2 separate regions of the Homo sapiens genome follow, and region 1 is linked to region 2. Evidence: promoter capture Hi-C in 16 types of primary human blood cells and fetal thymus (Javierre and others, 2016). All regions are on one chromosome and are shown on one strand. Each heading gives the region's core, a stretch centred on a gene start or on the middle of the fragment in contact. The rest is flanking DNA. Distances are from core to core; before and after follow the strand shown.

The links. The method cuts DNA at HindIII sites, captures the fragments that hold promoters and counts their contacts. A CHiCAGO score of 5 or more calls a contact.
Region 1: a fragment that was not itself captured here is called in contact with the fragment with the promoter of SPEM1 in region 2 in 1 of 17 cell types (monocytes); the score reaches 5.4 in monocytes.

The regions. Positions count from the first base shown.
Region 1 is chr17:7,068,954-7,075,518 of GRCh38, forward strand. CLEC10A (C-type lectin domain containing 10A) reads right to left here. Exons shown (of 9, transcript NM_001330070.2): 8 at 6,407-6,513; 9 at 5,584-6,269. The coding sequence ends at 6,101. Among named protein-coding and RNA genes, the nearest start is that of CLEC10A, 8.0 kb to the right of the region's middle. The HindIII fragment of the contact is 5,086 bases long and covers 1-4,203 here.
Region 2 is chr17:7,418,410-7,425,636 of GRCh38, forward strand. It overlaps SPEM1 (spermatid maturation 1), which reads left to right and starts at 1,915. Exons shown (of 3, transcript NM_199339.3): 1 at 1,915-2,119; 2 at 2,218-2,278; 3 at 2,472-3,223. The coding sequence starts at 1,976. The coding sequence ends at 3,196. NLGN2 (neuroligin 2) reads left to right here. Exons shown (of 7, transcript NM_020795.4): 7 at 1-1,451. SPEM2 (SPEM family member 2) reads left to right here and starts at 7,207. Exons shown (of 3, transcript NM_175734.5): 1 at 7,207-7,227. RefSeq lists an enhancer at 1,399-1,918. The HindIII fragment of the contact is 12,172 bases long and covers 107-7,227 here.

The DNA of each region.
Region 1 (6,565 bases), core at 411-2,910, 350 kb before region 2:
ATAAAGAAATACCTGAGACTGGGTAATTTATACAGAAAAGAGGTTTAATTGGTTCACGGTTCTGCAGGCTATACAGCAAGGATGGTGGCATCTGCTTGGCTTCTCGAGACACCTCAGGAAACTTACAATCATGGCGGAAGGTAAAGGGGAAATATGACATCTTACATGGCCGAAGCAGGAGGAAAAGAGAGCAGGGAGGTGCTACACACTTTTAGACAACTAGATCTCACGAGAACTCACTACCATGACAGAAGTACCAAGGGGGATGGTGTTAAACCATGAGAAACTGCTCCCATGATCCATTTATCTCCTAACAGGCCTCCAGCATTGGGGATCGCAACTGAACATGAGGTTTGAGCAGGGATAGATTCAAACCACATCACTGTCCCACCACTGCTCCAACACTTTTGCAAGATTTTTTCTTGCAAAAAAAAGACTTTTTCTCTGACCATCCATCACTAAACCTGTACCTCACCATTACCACCACACCACTACACCCCATTATTTCTGTCTTCTCTGTCCACCCCGTGACCCTCACTTTGGGATCGGACCACACAGATGACAACCAGGAGCAGGAGGCCGAGGCACAGGGACAGCAGGAGGAGGCAGTCCCAGAGTGCAGATGCTGCAGGAGGGCCTGGGGAGGAGGCAGCCCTCAGGAGGAGGGGGTGTCAAGACGAGGAGCGTCCAGGACATGACAGAGACGGGAAGAGGAGAGGGGCCAGGGAGCTGTCTAGAGAGGAGGGCTGAGCATAAAGGACACCAGGAAAGGGCGGGATGGGAAGGATTTCAGGGTGGGGGATGCCCAGGCCTTTGACCTCAGGGACCAGCACAAGTCCTCAGTCACACAGGCCCCTCACACCCGTGGGGACCACCAAACACACACACACAGATGGGGGATAATGGAGATATGTGAGGTCCCATGGTCAGAGCTGAGGAAGGGGCAGAAGGACACAGGGAGAGCTGGGGGCAGCCAGGCCCTTCATAGGCTCACGCTCATCTGTGAAAGCAGGTGAAATTATGGTCTTCCTTTGAAGACTTTCCTAAATAACCCATGTTTTTCCTGCTTCCTGTCCCTGTGCCACTGAGGACCCTAACTCCCCTGAAGACTAGGACCACAGAGGCCAGGCCCTGAACCCTCAGAGAGGGGGATCTCCACAGTCCATACTGGAGTCACAGAAATGACCAAAACCAGGAGCCCTGGAGCTACAGCACAGGGGAGACATGAGAAACCCCTCATTGCAGATAGAGGCATTGTCGGCCGGGCGCGGTGGCTCACGCCTATAATCCCTGCACTTTGGGAGGCCAAGGATCACCTGAGGTTGGGAGTTCGAGACCAGCCTGACCAACGTGCAGAAACCCCGTCTCTACTAAAAATATGAAATTAGCCAGGCATGGTGGCGCATACCTGTAATCCCAGCTACTCAGGAGGCTGAGGCAGGAGAATCACTTGAACCCAGGAGGTGGAAGCTGCAGTGAGCCGAGATCACATCATTGCATTCCAGCCTGGGCAACAAGAGCAAAACTCCATCAAAAAAAAAAAAAAAAGAAAGAAGGAAAGAAGGAAAAGAAAGAAAAGAAAGGAAAGGAAGAAAAGAAGGAAAGAAAGAAAAGAAAAGAAAGGAAAGAAAAGAAAGAAAAGAAAGAAAAGAAAGAAAGAAAGAAAGAAAGAAAGAAAGAAAGAAAGAAAGAAAGAAAGAAAGAAAGAAAGAGTTACTGTCTCTGAGAGAGGCACCATCCTTAGACTAGACCTCCTGGGCTTCACACTTTAGAGGGCCCTCACTGGCCCTCCTGTGACTCCATCCCTTCCTGTGGGACTGGGAATCTCCAGGGCCAAGGTGATGTGCTCACCCCAAGCCATACCTGCCCTTCTAGACCATCCTCTGGGTACCTGGGAGCCCAGATCGTCCACCCAGGCAGCTGTACACCTGTCTTCCCCGGGCCTGTCCCCTGGGTGGCAGACCCTGCTCCTGGTGTGCCCACCCTGAGGCTCAAGTGGTAGCCATGGGCAGAGGTTGGGGGGGTGAATGGAGGGTGTGGACCATGCTGAAGGTGTCCTCACGTGTCCCCCAGGCTCCTCAAGGTGCAAGACTGAGCTGAGGGAAGGGAGCAAAGGGAAGTGAGCTCAAGAGGAACTAGCTCAGGCCTCTGCAAACTTTGAGGGGTGGGCCTGTCTCTGGGGTCTTCTGCTTGTCTTACCTTTTCTTTTTCTTTTTTTTTTTTTTCTTGAGACAGAGTCTCGCTCTGTTGCCAGGCTGGAGTGTAGTGGCGCGATCTCGGCTCACTGCAACCTCCGCCTCCCAGGTTCAAGCAATTATCCTGCCTCAGCCTAATAAGTAGCTGGGACTACAGGCACCCGCCACCATGCCCAGCTAATTTTTGTATTTTTTAGTAGAGACAGGTTTCACCATGTTGGCCAGGATGGTCTTGATCTCTTGACCTCACGATCCGCCTGCCTCAGCCTCCCAAAGTGCTGGGATTACAGGTGTGAGCCACTGCACCCGGCCCAATTTTTTATTTTTAGTTGAGACGGGGTTTCGCCATGTTGGCCAGGCTGGTCTCGAACTCCTGACCTCAGGTGATCCATCCACCTCAGCCTCCCAAAGTGCTGGGATTACAGGCGTGAGCCGCCGCACCTGGCCTGTCATACCTTTTCTAAGATCATGTTCCTTCTCACTCTCTAAGCACTTGAGATCTTCATACTTCATTGACATCCTTGGCCCAAGTGGTCTCTGTGGCTGCAGGAGCTGAGATGGAGGCAGAGAAAGGGCTCCGAGGGGGAGCCTGAAATAAGGGCTGGAGGTGGGTGTGGAGCTGGTTTTGAGGTAGGAAGTGAGGATTCGATAGTGGCTGAGCCAGGCGTGAGAACTAGGAATGTGGCTGGGGGCTGGGTTTGCAGGTGAGGTTGAAACAGCGATCACAATTGGGGTTGTATCTGGGGTTAGGATGGGGTTGACTTACTTGGGGCTAAAAATCAGATTGGGTCTCAGGCTAAGATTGTAGACAGGGCTCCTTTGGAGTTGGGTCTGAGTTTGGGGCTGAGATTGGAAACATGTGGGATGGAGCATGGGGGTGTAGTACAGCTAGGCTGGAGCTGCAGTGGGGACAGAGATTGAATTTAGGGATGAATTTAGAGCCGACATTGGGACTGCAGTTGGGGCTGGAACTGGGATTGTATTGGTTTGGGGCTGTCCAACCCAATCTGGAAGTCAGTGGAGAGATCATTTCAATCTCCTCCAATAACTAGTTCAATCTGTGATCCATCTTCCCAGTTATTTCCACCTATAACACAAAGTCGCCCTCTCCATATTTTCCCTAATGCCCTCCCTGCCTCCGCCGTCCAGTTACCTGTACAAAACTAGAGAATGTAATTGTTTGCTTTCTTAGGTAGCAGAATTACCAGGTCAGGAAATTCTAGAGGGAACTGACTTGTATTGGTTCTCCTGCTCCCCTCTACATTCTGTGGCCCTGGTAGAACTGTGATCTCACGCTCCTGCTGGGTGGCTTCTCTCCCATGATCCAAAATCTTTCAGACCCAGGGGAGAGAGGCACAGAGCTGCTTGGGTGGATGATCTGGGTGGATGTTCTTTACTTTTGTGCCTTCAGGCTTCAGAGTGGTGATGTCTCTGCTATTCTTAGCCACAGGGACTTCACCAACTTTTGTTGGCTTCCTCAACCCTGCTCACACTCTGTAAATGTCATTAAACTCTTTTCAATAAACCCTTTTGTGGCCAAGCACTGCAGCTCATACCTGTAATCCTAGCAGTTTGGGAGGCCAAGGCAGGACAATCGCTTGAGCCCAGGAGTTTGAAACCACCCTGGGCAACATAGTGAGACCCTATCTCTACAAAAAATAAACTTAGCCAGGCATGGGGGCACACATCTATAGTCTCAGCTACTCAGGAGGCTGAGAAGAGAGGATTGCTTGAGTCCAGGAGTTCAAGGCTGCAGTGAGCTATGATCGCACCACTGCATTCTAGCCTGGGTGACAGAACAAGAACCTGTCTCTCTATATATATATGTAGAGAGAGAGAAAGAGAAATAAATCCTTTGGTTTTGACACCTGTATCTTGCTGGAACTGATTAAAAAAAAACCCTTTGAATAAAATTATAAATGTTTACTATGGTACACAGAAAAATAAAAAAGAATAAACTCCATTTGGAAGTCTAACAGGCTCCTCAAACTCAACATGTTCAAAATAAAGCTTCTTATCTCCTCATCCCACCCACAAAACCAGCTTCTCACACGGTCTTCCCATCTTAATTAACTGGGACTCCATCCTTCTAGGTTTTCAAGCCCCAAACCTGGAATTATCCTTGACTTTCTCATTTTCCCAAACCCCTCAGACAACCCATCAGCAAATCCTGACAGCTAATTCAGACATTCCTATATGCCAGGGAGCTTTCTGGGTACAGTAATACAGCAATGAATGGGTCCTGCCATCCCTTAATGAACTTAAAAAGTTGGTTCTTAATAGCTGAAATGCAGCTGGGTGTGGTGGCTCATGCCTGTAATCCCAGCACTTTGGGAGGCCGAGGCGGGCTGATCACCTGAGGTCGGGAGTTGGAGACCAGCCTGACCAACCTGGAGAAACCCCATCTCTACTTAAAACACAAAAGTAGCCAGACATGGTGGCAGGCTCCTGTAATCCCAGCTACTCGGAAGGCTGAGGCAGGAGAATCACTTGAACCTGGGAGGCGGAGGTTGCAGTGAGCTGAGATGACGCCATTGCACTCCAGCCTGGGCAACAAGAAGGAAATTCCCGTCTCAAAAAAAAAAAAAAAAAAAAAAATCAAAATAGCTGAGATGCTTCCCTGGTATATGCTGGATTGATTGAAAAAACAGAAATCTCCACCCCTCTCTATATCCATTCTCTACACAGTATGACTTTGTAGACCCCCCCCCAACCCCCCACCAAAATGTGGAATCTATTTCTCTGGCCCTTGAACCTGGGCAGCCTTGCAATCTGCTTTGGCCAATAGGATGCAGCAAAAACGATGCTTCAGTTCCAAGCAAGGCTCTGAAGTCCTTGCAGTCTTCCAATTTCTCTCTTGGACCCCCACCCAGCCATTCTGTGAACAAGGCCAGGCTAAGCTAATGTGGCCCAGTCATCCCCATTGTCCCAGCCCAGAGCCAGCCAAATATGAGACATGGGAGCAAGGCTACCCTAGACCAGCCAACCCCAAGCCAACCCACCAGCTGACCACGGACGCATAAACAAGCCCAGCCAAGATGACCCAAACCTGGCCAGACCAGACCTATAGCCTCATGAGCTATAATAAATGCTTACTGTATAAGCCCTGAGCTTTGAGGTGGTTTGTTACACACCAATTGCTAACCAATACACCTGGGGATCTTATCTACATCTCCCAACAACTCTGGGATCTTCAGAGAAATTAAACAATGGCTTTTCCTAATCACCCTAAGTTTATACCATCTTTAAGTGACAGAAAAGATTTGAACTCAAATCTATATGAGAAGAAAATGCTATTTTCTCAATCACATAGGACTTTCGAAGGCTTCACCTGGCTTCTCCACTCTGCCATTTTTAGATTGCCAAAAATCAAGCAACACAAAGTACGTAAGTTCTCACGAGAGTATATATTCACTTATATGAAGTATATACACGAGAGTGTATGATTTCACTTATATGAAGTTCTAGAAGCTCTAGAAGAGGCAAGGCCAATAAATAGTGAAAAAGAAGTAGATCACTGGCCTGGAAACAGGGAAGTGGTTGGACTGCCCAGAGGCATGAGGGGACTGGTGGGGGCGATGGCAATGTTATCTATTGCGATCGGAGTGGTAGTCACCTAGGCATGCATATTTGTCAAAGTCATCTCTACTCTTTAAATGAGTGCATTTTTATTATGTAAAAATTATACCTTCATGAAGTTGACTTTCAAAAGTTGGAAAAAAAATAAAAGCTTAAGAACACTATACCATCTTTTTAAAATTAAAGAGAAAAAAATTCAAAATGTTAGCAGTGCTTCCAATCTCCCAGTGCTTATTTCTCTCCCAGAGCGGTCTTGCGAGGAGGTCGTGAGAAGAGTCCTCCTCCCACCGCCATTTCTGTGGCCGGGTGGTCCCACCAAAGGCAGCTCAGTGACTCTCCTGGCTGGTCTGACCCAGGCCAGCCTCGCAGACCCAGTGGTAGGGCCTCTGGCAGACGTCGTCATTCCACCTGCCGTCTGGATGGAAGTGAGCACAGTCCTCGCCTCCACCCAGCCCGTGCCCCTGCCAGTCGTCTGGCTGGCCTGGCTTCCAGTTCCTGAGAGGAAAAGACAACAGCAAGCTAGGAAGGGTAGATGGAGTAGAATTCAGTTCAGGGGAGGAGAGGCTGCCAGTCAGATCCCTGGGGGAAACGCTGACGGAGGACATTGGCACAGAAAGCCAGGGTGCACTCACTGGAAGCCGGTCGCATAGTCTGTTCCATCCACCCACTTCCAGGCTCCTTCAGGGTCACTGAGGCCCATCCAGGTGTATGCGGAGCCTAGATATTTCTGGACAAAATTCTGCGGTGACAGAAGGGCAGTGGTGACTTCTTCCCATCCCAGCCAACTCCTT
Region 2 (7,227 bases), core at 665-3,164:
TCAGATGAAGCACGTTCTGCCGGGGAGGCCCTCACCTTCCAGAGAGGACAGACACAGATTTCCTGCTGGGGGAGGGAGGAGTCCACGCATCCTGATGCTGCCTGGAAGCTTATTTTCCCGTGGCCAGGACGCATTTCTCTGAGTGGAAACAGGTTCTTGCATGTGGATGTGTGTTTCCCCAGGCAGACGGCCCCTCTCTTCCCAGCACTTCCCTGCCTCCCCCAGGCCTCAGGCCCAGCACCCAGTTCCTCCTCACATGGCAGGTGAGCACAGACTTCTAGTTGGCAGGAGCTGAGGAGGGTGAACAAACCCCGAGGGAGGCCCGGCCCTTGCTCCCGAGTTGGGGGGAGGGGGTGTGGCAACGTGCCCCCCGCAGAGGCCACGCATGTTTGACCAAAGCCCTCATTGTGGTCCGAGGACAGCCTTTTCCCCAGGCCTCAGAGCATTGCTCATCCGTGCCAAACTGGGTAGGTGGATTTGAGCGGAAAGACTCCCAAAATGTGCCAAGAATTTCCCAGTCCCAGGCAGGGCAGGGGAAACTAAGGGCAAGCAGGATACAGGGCGAGGGATGTGGCAGGTGAGGGGGCTCCCGCCTGTGCCCCTTCTCCTCACCATGTCTCCCCCACCCTGCCTCAGTTCTCCGTTCCCCTTCATCTCCGTCCCCCTCTTTGAAGCTGTCCCCATCTCAGTGTCAGACCAGCCTTCTCCTCAGCTGACCACCCTCCTCTGACCCACGCCCCCTCCTTGTCTGAAAGAAAGGAGCCTTGAATGGTGGAGGGAGGCAGTGGGGAGAAAGGTCTCACCGGACAGGTTGGGAGAATGAGGTCAGCGGTGCTGGGGAACAGATGGAGGGGGCAGTGGGGACAGGGCTTGGGCAGACACCAGCAGGAATAATTTGAAATGTGTGAGGTGACTCCCCGGAGGGCCTTGGGCTTGGGCATTTGGGAAAAGAATGATGTCTGGAAGGGCTTAAGGGACACAGTGGACGAGGGGAGAGTCCTCATCTGCTGGCATTTTGTGGGGTGTTAGTGCCAAACTTGAATAGGGGCTGGGGTGCTGTCTTCCACTGACACCCAAATCCAGAATCCCTGGTCTTGAGTCCCCAGAACTTTGCCTCTTGACTGTCCCTTCTCTTCCTACCTCCATCCATGGAAAATTAGTTATTTTCTGATCCTTTCCCCTGCCTGGTCTAGCTCCTCTCCAAACAGCCATGCCCTCCAAATGCTAGAGACCTGGGCCCTGAACCCTGTAGACAGATGCCCTCAGAATTGGGGCATGGGAGGGGGGCTGGGGGACCCCATGATTCAGCCACGGACTCCAATGCCCAGCTCCTCTCCCCAAAACAATCCCGACAATCCCTTATCCCTACCCCAACCCTTTGCGGCTCTGTACACATTTTTAAACCTGGCAAAAGATGAAGAGAATATTGTAAATATAAAAGTTTAACTGTTGGTTGTGCCTGCTCTGTTGTGGGGAGGGCGGTCTCTAAAGAAACAAGCCCTGGGGAAGTGACGAGGGAGGAGGGGTCTTTTCAGTGACCAGCTCTGAGGTCTGAGAGGAAGGGGGAGTGTGTGCTGGGGTCTGGTTGCCATGGTAATGGGTCTGTTTGGCAAATGAATGTCAGGACCCGTGTCTATGCCGAGACTGGAGCCTGGTGTCGTTCTATAATGGAAGGACAAAGGCTGATGGGGGCAGATGTCAAACAGGCCAGAGGCCCAGTGGGCTGGTGTAGGCAGCTAGCTCAGCAGAGGTATGTGAGGTGAGAGGCATGGCCTCTGCCAAGGCCTGGACTCAGGCGAGAGGGTCAGCCACGGGTCCAGGACTCAGGGTAGCCCCTTGGCACACTGGAAGGGAGTGGCCTGGCACCATTGTGACCCGTTCACTCCCAAGACCCTCAGGGACAGGCAGGCAGTCAGTGGACACTGTCGGCACGGTGGGCTGGGGGCGTAAGGGCCCCGGTGGTCCTAGGGACCCCATGGCCATGGTTGAGCGGCCGAGGCCCGAGTGGGCCTCGTATCACAACTGCAACAGCAACAGCTGCCAGGACCTGGGCAACTCTGTCCTGTTGCTGCTGGGCCTCATCATCTGCATTAACATTAGCATCAATATAGTGACCCTGGTCAGGGTGGGGCCAGATGGGAGGGAGCTGGTGGGATAGTGGGGGGCAGGCCTGCCGGCCAGGGCCTACCTGGGATCACTGTGTCTTCCCCCACCTAGCTCTGGAGCCGATTCCGTGGTGTCTTATACCAAGTGTTCCATGATACCATTTGTGAGAAAGGTAAGAGGTCTGGGGGCTGGGACATAGGAGGGGCAGAAACCAAGTGCTCTAGCCTCAGCCCTAAATTAGCCCCTTCCCTTCTTGCTCGCCCCTCTCAGACAACATAGCTGTGTGGCTGCCCTTCCTGGGCCCTGCCTCTCCATGCCTGTAGGAGCTGGCCTCCCCACTAGTCTCACCTCTCCCCCATCCACAGAAGCTCCCAAGTCATCATTACTCAGAAAGCAGACCCAGCCCCCTAAGAAGCAGAGTTCTCCTGCAGTCCATCTTCGGTGCACCATGGACCCTGTGATGATGACTGTGTCCCCGCCCCCAGCTCACCGCCATCGCCGTCGAGGCTCTCCCACACGCTGTGCTCACTGCCCAGTAGCTTGGGCTCCTGACACTGATGACGAGAAGCCTCATCAGTACCCAGCCATCTGCTCCTACCACTGGGATGTCCCTGAGGACTGGGAAGGCTTCCAACACACTCAGGGGACCTGGGTTCCCTGGTCTCAGGATGCCCCAGAGTCCCCTCCCCAGACCATCCGCTTCCAGCCTACCGTAGAGGAAAGGCCCCTCAAAACAGGCATATGGTCCGAGCTGGGCCTAAGGGCCTATGTGTATCCTGTGAACCCCCCACCTCCCAGCCCTGAGGCTCCTAGCCACAAGAACGGTGGGGAGGGGGCGGTGCCAGAGGCAGAGGCGGCTCAGTACCAGCCTGTCCCAGCTCCCACCCTGGGCCCAGCAGTCATCCCTGAATTTTCCCGGCACCGCTCCTCAGGCCGAATAGTGTATGATGCCCGGGACATGAGACGGCGGCTTCGGGAACTGACCCGGGAGGTGGAGGCCCTGTCCGGCTGCTACCCCCTAGCCTCTGGATCCAGCACTGCCGAGGAGACAAGCAAGAATTGGGTGTACCGTTCCCTAACTGGGAGGTGACTGGAAAAAAATAAAAAGGAGAGAGGAGGTGATCTGTGGTGGTGCTGGGGTGCCAGGGCCCACACAGCACCTAGAAGCTGTGGCTGTGAAGAGAATGCTCTCCCTAGCCACAGGGCCCTGAGCCCTGAGGACCCTCATTAACCTTTTGCCCCACAGGCCTGTCCCTGTCCTCAGCCTTTCCTAGGCCCTTCTGGGTTCCAAGGCTCTTACCTGCCTCTACCTTGTTTTCAATTTTTTTTTTTTTTTGAGACAGGGTCTTCTCTGTTGCCCGGGCTGGAGTGCAGTGGTGCAATCACAGTTCACTGCAGTCCCAACTGTCTCCCACCTCAGCCTCCTGAGTCACTAGGACTACAGGCATGGGCCACTAGTTTGTTGTTGTTGTTGTTGTTTGTTCGGTTGGTTGGTTTTTGTGTGGGGGGGGTTGTTTTTGTTTTTAAGACAGAGTCCTATTCTTGTCACCCACACTGGACTGCAATGGCACAATCTTGGCTCACTGCAACCTCTGCCTCCCAGGTTCAACCAATTCTCCTGCCTTCAGCCTCCTGAGTAGCTGGGACTACAGGCGTGTGCCACCATGCCCTGCTAATTTTTGTATTTTTAGTGCAGATGGGGTTTTGCCATGTCGGCCAGGCTGGTCTTGAACTCCTGACCTCAGGTGATCCGCCCGCCTCAGCCTCCCAAAGTGCTGGGATAACAGGTGTGAGCCACCCCACCCCAGCCGCACCACTATTTTTTGTAGAGATTGGGTTTCACTACTTTGCCTAGGCTGGTCTCAAACTCCTGGGCTCAATCGATCTGCCTGCCTCAACCTCTGAAAGTTCTGGGATTACAGGTGTGAGCCACTGTGCCCGGACTGTTTCCTCCCCCTCCCCTGAGGCAGGGTCTTGATCTGTCACTCAGGCTGGAGGGCAGTGGTGCAATCATGGCTCACTGGAGACTCAACCTCCTGAGCTCAAGCAGTCTTCCTGCCTCAGCCTCCTGAGTAGCTGGGACAACAGGCACCACCACGCCCAGTTAATTCCTTGTTTTCTTTAGTGCACAGAGAAGCCCCTAAATTCTACCCCAGGTCCCCAGGCAGTCGTGCACTAGAGGAGAGATCTCCATCTCCATGGCCCTAGCTCCTCAGAAGGCTGGTGCCTGCCAGAGCCCAGCGTTAGGCTGCAGCCACCGGTGAGGCCTGGTTCCCACGTAAGCCCTGATTTATTTGGGGAGGGATGGCTGAGAGGGCGTCTAGTCCTTCACAGTTCCCCAGTCACCCTGAAGGTCCTATACCCTTAAGCAGGATTGGAGCAGAGGAGGAAATATTGGGGCCCCCTTGGCTGGGCGCAGTGGCTAACGCCTGTAATCCCAGCACTTTGGGAAGCCGAGGCGGGCGGATCACGAGGTCAGGAGGTCGAGACCTCTTGGCTAACACAGTGACACCCCGTCTCTACTAAAAAATGAAAAATAAAAAATAAAAAAATTAGCTGGGCATGATGGTGGGCGCCTGTAGTCCCAGCTACTTGGGAGGCTGAGGCAGGAGAATGGTGTGAACGTGGGAGGCAGAGGTTGCAGTTAGCCAAGATGGCGCCCCTGCACCCCAGCCTGGGCGACAGAGCGAGACTCCATCAAAAAAAAAAAAAAAGGCCGGGCGTGGTGGCTCACATCTGTAATCCCAGCATTTTGGGAGGCCGAGGCGGGCAGATCACAAGGTCAGGAGATTGAGACCATCCTGGCTAACATGGTGAAACCCCATCTCTACTAAAAATATGAAAACAAAAAATTAGCCGGGCGTGGTGGTGGGCGCCTATAGTCCCAGCTACTTGGGAGGCTGAGGCAGGAGAATGGTGTGAACCCAGGAGGCGGAGCTTGCAGTGAGCCGAGATTGCACCACTACACTCCAGCCTGGGCAACAGAGCGAGACTCCATCTCAAAAAAAAAAAAAAAGAAGAGAAATATTGGGGCCCCCCTCAAGAGGTACCTCACTGTAACATCACAGCTCTCTGTGACCTCACTCCTTTGATTAACTCACCATGTCACCAGTGAGGAGACTAAGTTCAGAGAAGCTAAGGGTCTTGCTCATGGTTACACAGACACTGAGGATCAAGCTCATGGCCTCAGATGCTCCATCCCATTGCTGCAGAGCCAGCCTGACCCACCAGAACCTCCCACCTTCCCCAGTTCACCATGTGAACTCAGAAACTGAGAAACAGAGAAACTCAGGCCCTGCCTTTCTGCTACACAATTGGGATCATATGCACATGCACACACATACCACTTGAGAACAAGCAGCTGTGTGCGTGAGCCCAGGCTGAGGGAGCTGGACTTCACCTTCCACTCTAGACAGATTCCTGGAATGTGAGCAGACGGACCGTTTACAAATGGCCCTACTTCTCTCATTCAACTAACGTTACTGATCATTTTCAATGGATTCCATTCAGTGGAATCTGAATCTACTCTGCATCTACTCTGTGTTTGGAGGCTGGATGGGATATGATCACTGGCCTTTCTTTCTGCTGAGTGGTTCACTGTGTAAACAAATGGCTTGCAGTCTCCAGGGCACCACAGACCCCAGTGATGCACCTGTTTTAAGTCAAACACTCTTTTTGGTATATTAACAATTACATGTATTTTGTGCTTTGTTAATTTCATGTGGTTTTCTTGTTGTTGTTGTTGTTGTTGTTGGGTTGTTTGTTTGTTTTGAGACAGTCTCACTCTGTCACCCAGGCCGGACTTCTGTGGCGCGATCTTGGCTCGCTGCAACCTCCACCTCTCAGGTTCAAGCAATTCTCCTGCCTCAGCCTCCCAAGTAGCTGGGATTACAGGCGCCCACCAACATGCCCAGCTAATTTTTGTGTTTTTAGTAGAGGTTTCGCCATGTTGGCCAGGCTGGTCTCAAACTCCTGACCTCAGGTGGTCCACCTGCCTGGGATTATAGGCGTGAGCCACTGCGCCCAGCAAGTTTCCTTCCTTCCTTCCTTCCTTCCTTCCTTCCTTCCTTCCTTCCTTCCTTCCTTCCTTCCTTCCTTTCTTGTTTTTTTGGAGACAGATTCTCGATGTGTCACCCAAGCTGGAGTACAATGGCGAGAGCTCAGCTTGCTGCAACCTCCACCTCCTGGGTTCAAATGATTCTTCTGCCTCAGCCTCCCGAGTAGCTGGGACTACAGGCGCGCATCACCACACCCAGCTAATTTTTGTATTTTTAATACAGACGGGGTTTCACTATGTTGGCCAGGTTGGAACTCCTGACCTCAGGTGATCCAGCCACCTCAGCCTCCCAAAGTGCTGGGATTATAGGCATGAGCCACCGCGCCCAGCTCGGGTTTTCTTCAGGTAGTAGCTTAACCGTTTTTCACCTTGGAGTAAGGGTGGGTTGGTGGGAGTGTAGGTGGTTAGGTTGGAGAAACCATGGCTGGGGTTGGTTCCCAGCAGAGGCAGCCACCTCAGTGAGTCAGATGTCAGTGTGACGAAGTGGCTGGTGGGCTCAAGGACCACCAACACCTAGGGCTGGAGTCTGGCCAGGAAGAATTGGGCAGAGATGGGAGCTAGAGGACTTTTGACAGGGAAATGGGCAGAGTAGGGAGGGGCTGGTACAGCAGGGTGATGCCTGAGGGGACGCAGTGTCACCCGCCCATCTAGTCACCCTAGATGCTGGCCCCAAAGTAACCATGGGGCAAGGCACGCCAACAGGCTATGTAAGTTGCCATAATGTCTCAAAAGAACAATGAAACAGGACATATCTGATGCATGCTTCAACCCTGTGACGACCGTGTCAGCCTCTAACTACCCTATCTTCAGCTCAGGAACCAGCTGTGGGGTTAAGCAAACCTCGTGGAGATAGAGGAACAGACTGAGATCTGGGATATGTGGGGACCAGGCTCCACCAAGTAGGAGCCAAGGGTGGAGATGGCGGTAGAAGGGGCCAGCAGAATGGATAAAAGCTGCCACCTCCACATTGTGACTCTCGCTAGCTCACCTCATTGTGACCTGGCTCCCTTACCAGCTTGTAGTTATCTCCGGGGATTGGCATGAGTGCAGTGTGGGTTGGGGCC